Regions from separate parts of the Homo sapiens genome. Here region 2 is linked to region 1. Evidence: promoter capture Hi-C in 16 types of primary human blood cells and fetal thymus (Javierre and others, 2016). All regions are on one chromosome and are shown on one strand. The core of a region is centred on a gene start or on the middle of the fragment in contact, and the rest is flanking DNA. Distances in the headings are between cores, read along the strand shown. Region 1 holds the start of VPS4B (vacuolar protein sorting 4 homolog B). Region 2 holds the start of NARS1 (asparaginyl-tRNA synthetase 1).

The links. Contacts are between HindIII fragments. The CHiCAGO score rates a contact against its expected background, and 5 or more counts as called.
Region 2: the fragment with the promoter of NARS1 here is called in contact with the fragment with the promoter of VPS4B in region 1 in 1 of 17 cell types (neutrophils); the score reaches 5.1 in neutrophils.

Annotation. Positions count from the first base shown.
Region 1 is chr18:63,420,504-63,423,790 of GRCh38, forward strand. It overlaps VPS4B (vacuolar protein sorting 4 homolog B), which reads right to left and starts at 1,973. Exons shown (of 11, transcript NM_004869.4): 1 at 1,730-1,973. The coding sequence starts at 1,756. RefSeq lists an enhancer at 1,841-2,140. The HindIII fragment of the contact is 6,978 bases long and covers 1-3,287 here.
Region 2 is chr18:57,620,424-57,623,665 of GRCh38, forward strand. NARS1 (asparaginyl-tRNA synthetase 1) reads right to left here and starts at 1,413. Exons shown (of 14, transcript NM_004539.4): 1 at 1,285-1,413; 2 at 146-228. The coding sequence starts at 1,294. RefSeq lists enhancers at 1,262-1,966, 1,347-1,686. The HindIII fragment of the contact is 17,897 bases long and covers 1-3,242 here.

The sequences.
Region 1 (3,287 bases), core at 723-3,222:
CACATGCAAAGTCTCTGACAAATGAAAAGCTGGTGGAATAAAAATTGTTAAAAAGCCAACGATGACAAGATGGGCACTTCAGAAGAGTCACCTTTAATACTCAAGGGAAAAATACTTTTACCAAATGACCAACGCTTTTTCCAAATACGTTTACCAAAAAGAACCTTTCCAAATAGGACTACAAAAAGCTACAAAAAACTCAAGTGAAGATTGCTGAATCTTAGTTTAATACAACCTTGGTGAAAAAGATAGTCATCCGGGCACGGTGACTCACGCCTGTAATCCCAGCACTTTGGGAGGCTGAGGTAGGCGGATCACCTGAGGTCAAGAGGCCAGCCTGGGCCAACATGGTGAAACCTCATCTCTACTACTAAAAATACAAAAATTAGCTGGGCGTGGTGGTGGGTGCCTGTAGTCCCAGGTACTCAGGAGGCTGAGGCAAGAGAATCGCTTGAACCTGGGAGGTGGAGGTTGTAGTGAGCTGAAATCACGCCACTGCACTCAAGCCTGGGCGACCGTGCAAGACTCCGTCTCAAAAAAAAAAAAAAAAAGAAAGAAAAGAAAAGGAAAAAAACACAGACAAATCAACACTTGACTTATTCCACAAAATGAGTCATTGTTGCAATTATACAATTATAATATTTTGTGAAAGATAACAATTATTTTAATAATCTTCTAGGTCGATTTTCAAGATGAAAGTCCCAAGCAAGCCTCCTTTCCCACTCTTTTTGTGTATGTGTGTGTGAAATTTTAATCTCTGTTTAAGTGGGTCTACTTTGAGTGGTCTTTCTTCAGAATCAATTATCATGGGTTAAGGAGTTCTTCCATTACCTTTGATGCCTCTGTCAGGCACTCCAATAACTGCTTGTTCAACAAACTACCGGAAGTCCACGACGGGGACTCAATACAAGTATTTTAGGCTACTCTTTTGTGCCTTATTGACTTACTGGACTGGGAGTCCTCTACATTAAGCCACATTACATTCTAAACGCCACTGAAGCCCTAGATCCATTCTGGGGATGGGAGACACCATTACATTAAGAAATTTCTTTTCTGAACGAATTCCATTCCACAGAGGACTAACGATTAAGCCTAAAATCTTAAGATTCCATGATTTGTGTACAAAACACTGTGCTCATTGCGGTAGAGGAGGGGAAGTGGAGCCACACAGAGGTTTAAGAATACTCCTCGATCTTACACACTACCATCTGGGAGCCACAGGAGTGTGCACATAAATTCAATGACTTCACGGAGATTGCATGCAGGCTGGCTGTAATCTCAGATTCTTGGTCTGTTCCCATATCTCTACTCACCTGACAGCTCAGAATGAAGGGGTCTGCTGTCAGCTTGAGAAACTAAGACCGAACTATGACCACCCTATCTTCAACTGGTCCAGAATAGGGCTTTGCAAAAATTACGTTCTTTCTTTCTCCGTTAACCCTGATTGGAGAAACCTGCCCAGATCTTGGCTGGTTTGGAAGCGGGAAGTGTCAACAAAAGTGAAGAGTCTCACAAAGCCAGTAGCTCGGGAGACCCCAAGAGCGGGCCAGAAACGACCTTTCCGTTGGAAAACGGGCCCCTCTCCCACCTGCTGCAGGTCCCCGGACCCGCCCTCCTGCGCCTCGACCACAGGCGCGGCCGCTTCCTCCCTTCTCCCCGCCCCCCACCCGCTTCTCGCGCCTCCCCTCGATCCCAGCTCCCTAGGGGGACGGGAGATGAGCAATGATACCTGGAGGTTGGGCGAAGTGGATGACATGGCGGAGTTCCCAGGCGGTTCCCAAGGGAACGAGGGGCGAGGAGAGCCAACAGCAGCAACGTCGAAGCGCGCACGGGGTAACAGCCCTCAAACTGGGGAGGCCGGTGGTTCTCGGACCGCGAAGGGCAGCCTCCCTTCCGGAACTTGTTTTAGACAACACTCTCTCCACCAGAGCTCCGACCCTCCCCACCAAACTTCCGCAATCCCGAGGCCCTCTAGGTTCTGGTCCCGCCTCTGCTCCGGGCACTTCCGATTTCGTCATCAGCACGCGCACCCAGTCACCAGACTCCCTTCTCTAGCCACAGCGCAGGCCCTCCCTGGGCCGGGAGAAGTAGCCTGGAAGCCAATCGAGCCCTGGCGGAAGTCGGGCTCGGCGCAGGCGCACTGAGACTCTGGCCTAGGCGCGGGCGGCAGCCTGGCAGACCTAGGAGAGCGCAAGCGCGGAAGCACAGAGCCGGGTTTTGTTGTTTGTTTGTTCCCCACCCCCGGGGACGTCTTTTACTTTGAGATGAATTATTGGCCCCGGCTCCCTTCCCTCCTCATCCACATGCTTTGTTGCCTCGTAGCTTTTGAGTGAAAAAGTCGTCCATTTCCAAGACCCGCCGACTGGGGGCTTTGGGCCTGTGACTGCGCCTTCACTCCGTGTCCTCTGTGGAATGGGGGCGATCACCGTCCTCGTCTCGGTGGTGAATAATTCAGGAGGGAGTGCGCGGTGAGGCGGCCGCACAGCGGTGCGCTAGCAGTCAGGCCGCGGGCGGGTCGGCGCTCGTTCCCGCTTGTTCTTCCCACGCCACTCGGCATCTTCCAAATGACTGTTGTGTTGGGAAGATGAATGTAAATAAGGCGTGGACGGCCGCTGTCCTCGAGTATGTGGTCTGAGAGGGAAGCACTTGTCCTGTAAAATGGGCATATCAGATATTATTTATGCCAGTTATGTTTACAAGCAAATGGCTTGAGGAGGTTGAATGCGTCAGGGATTAGAGGCAGAACCAAAGTAAAACCCTTTCTCAGCCTTCCTATGGTTTGCAGCCACCACCACCCTTTTCTTCTTTTCATAGTTAACATTCTCAAAGGAAAGCAACATAGATGTTTAATCACTCCATCATTTTTTTCTCACTCATTTCTTAATTTTTTCTCATCTGGCATCTCCGAAAGAATTAAAGTCCTCTCCTCTTCCCTCTTCATTGGTATTGTCAACTACCCAGTTCTTGTTTGTCCAGCTTCCCAATATTCCTTATCTGCTTCCTTCACTGTCTCCCTTTCTTACTCCTCCCTGAGCTTAAGCTGAATTTACTCAAGAGTCTGATGTCCTCTTCTCTCTTCACCTCTGCTCATCTAACTCTCTTCTTGAGCTTCAGCTATCAATAGACTAGAAATTGCTTCAAATCTGGATCTCTAGACCCACCCCATCCCCAGCCCAGCATTTACAACAGCCTCCCAGAGGTTTCCTTCACAGGGTTTTTCTGCAAGACAAATTCAACATACTCTAATTAATTACCTTCTACCCTAAACTTCTTTCTCTGGTCTCTCC
Region 2 (3,242 bases), core at 163-2,662, 5.8 Mb before region 1:
ATCTGTATGCATTCCTTACTTTCCCTTTTCTGAAAATTCTCTTTGGAACCTAGTGTTTGAAATTAAGTTCTTGGCAAGTCACAAGAAAATTGACATAACTCATTAATAAATGCAGTCTCATTTTCCTAATGAGAAGAGACTCTACCTTTAGACCTGTTTTAAATGGTTTCTCCTTGGTTCCATCTCCCGTGGCATCGCTTCCCTCTCGGTCAGAGACGTACAGCTCTGCTGTTTGACAAAATGAGGGTAAGTTATGGTCTGGCCATTAACTATTAGTCACCTTACTACTTTATTCATTCCTTATCTTTGTAAACAGAACAAGCATCGATTAATAAAAATTGAGGTCCATAAGTAATTAATATCCTAGTTATTTCCCCACTCCATTTCAATAACATCCATCTCATAAAAACATTAGTTAATAATCCAGGTTTTCAAAATGAACTCTGATCATTTTAATTTGTGATATTTATTCTATCTAATTGGGCACCCAAAAATAAAATATGGGCTTTGAAGTTGATCAGACATACGCTGGAATGTTGGATTTTGTACCTTAAAAGGCAGGGTGACTCTGGAGAATTTACTTAACCTTTCTGAGCTTATTTCTTTACCTATAAAATAGGAAAAACAATCCCCATCTTGAAAGGCTGTGCTGAGGATGAAATAAAATAACACATACAAATCAGATATCCCAGTGCCAGTTTTTGTAGAGATGGCAAATAAACACCAGCTCCCTCTGGACTTTAAAGGAAACAGAAGCTCTGAGGTTAGAAAATTTCAGAAGGCCTCACAACTAGTAGGTCTGAACAGTTAACATCCATCCAGGTCTCTCTCTTTTTTTTTTTTTTTTTCCTACTGCACAGTATGGTCTCCCCGGAAACCTCAATAAAAAAATGAGGGTGGGAGAAAAACAACTAGAATCCTAAAGCCCCTTCCTGACGATCACTTTGAAGAACTGCAGGAGTAGGGGCTACCCTGTGTCTGAACCCGTCCCAGCGCCTGAGTCTCAGCGCAATCGGGAGGTTTCGCAGCGGGGCAGGGGAAGGGCCCGGAGCCACCGCCATCGCAGCCCGGGGGAACGACGGACTCGGGGAAGCCCGGCCTGGCCCTTCAAGTCCCGGGCCCAGCAAAGGCCAGCACCCTCCCTCCCTCCCTCCCTGCAATCGGTCCCCAAACATTCGCGGGGCGCCCACTCTGGTAGGCACTAAGGAAAGCGCCGAAACCCGACTGGAGCAGAGTTCCTGCCCCAGGCAGGGAACACCGCGCCATACACTGAGTCTCACCCACCTAGCACCATGCCTGCAGTGGCCCTGGTCACCTCCAAGGACACAGACTGCAACACCGACGCCGTCTTATGACTCCAACGTGCACCGGCGGTTTCCGCGATTCCGGCGTTGCATCAGAGAGCGTAGATCTGAGGGCGCCTGCGAGAATCGGCCGAGCGCCGCGGTTCCATTGGTTACGAGAGGTGGGCGAGCGGCGCCGGGGCCGCCATCTTTGGTGAGGGCAGAGGCAACTTCCGGATCCAGAGACGCCCCGCCCCACGCGTTTGTGCAGCTCGGAAGGCGCTGCCTGTCCCGGAGCTCCGCGGCCCTGGAGACCCTGGCACAGTGTCACTTTTGCACCCTTCCTTCCCCGCCTCCCCAACTTTCCTTTCTGAATCTTCCAATTCCGCCCCAGCTGGAGGCGTGCGGGTCCTCTTGCAAACCAGACCAAGGATGTCGCCCCGATCCCCAGATGGTGGAGGCTGGTTGAGTTCATGTCACCAGCAAACACCGCGCCAGCTGCGAGACGGGGTGCGCGGCGGTGGAGGGGACGCAGCGGGTTGCGTAAACTTCCTTTTTTTTTTTTTTTTTTTTGAGACGGAGTCTCGCTCTGTCACCCAGGCTGGAGTGCAGTGGCGCGATCTCGGCTCACCGCACCCTCCACCTCCCGGGTTCAAGCGATTCTTCTGCCTCAGCCTCCCGAGTAGCTGGGATTACAGGCCTGTGCCACCATGCCCAGCTAATTTTTGTATTTTTAGTAAAGACGGGGTTTCACCATCTTAGTCAAGCTGGTCTCGAACTCCTGACCTTGTGATCCGCCCACCTCGGCCTCCCAAAGTGCTGGGATTACAGGCGTGAGCCATCGCGCCCGGCCAGATGCGTTAACTTTCTAAACTCCGTGAGCCAGCGTCCCTCGGTGTTCAGGAGAGGAGCTATGGTATATGTTCATTTAAAATTGTAAGGATTACCGTTAGGAAGGCCATAATAATGTGGTGGAAAGAACGAGGGCTTCGGAATACAAACCTGGGTTCTGCCTTTTACTAACCGTGTGTCTTCAGATAAATTACCTAAACTGAATGAGCTTCATTCAGCGAGTTGGGACCGATTGCAGGGAGGGAGGGAGGGTCCTGGCCCTTGCTGGGCCCGGGACTTGAAGGGCCAGGCCGGGCTTCCCCGAGTCCGTTGTTCCCCGGGCTGCGATGGCGGTGGCTCCGGCCCCTGCCCCTGCCCCGCTGCGAAACATCCCGATTGCGCCGAGAGTCAGGCGCTGAGAGGGGTTTATCTGTGTCTTCAGATAAATTACCTAATCTGAATGAGCTTCAGTTTTTCTATTTGTGAAAGATGATATAAATTCACTGCCCGGGCATGTAAGAGGTGCTAATAAAGGGTCTGTCATCATTTTCAACTTTTTTTTACTTTTTTGGTGGGCTTTTTTTTTTTTTGGAGACTGGGTCTTCTCTGTTGCTCAGGCTGGAGTGCAGTGGTGCTATCATAGCTCACGGCAGCCTCGAACTCCTGGGCTCAAGTGAGCCTCCCACTTAAGCCTCCCAAGTAGCTGGGACTATAGGTGCACGCCACCACGCCTGGCTTATTTTATTTTTATTTTTGTGGAGATGGGGGAGGGGTCTCCCTGTGTCGCCCAGGCTGGTCTCCAACTTCTGGGATCAAGTGATCCTCCTGCCTCAGCCTCCCAAAGTGCTGGTCTTACAGGCGTGAGCTACCACGCCCAGCCCATTCTCAATTTAGTGGAATACCAGAGTTTGTCCCTGAAGCAAAAGAAAACCTTTTTTTTATGAGAGGTCCTCAAAAAAATAACTCTATATATAGGTTCAGGGCCCATCAAGAATATGAACCAAGTCCGGGCACAGTGGCTCATGATTGTTATCAATCCCAGCACCTTGGGAGGTTGAGGCGGGTGGATCACTTGAGGTCAGGAGTTGGAGACCAGTCTGGCCAACATGGTGAAACCCCGTGTCTACT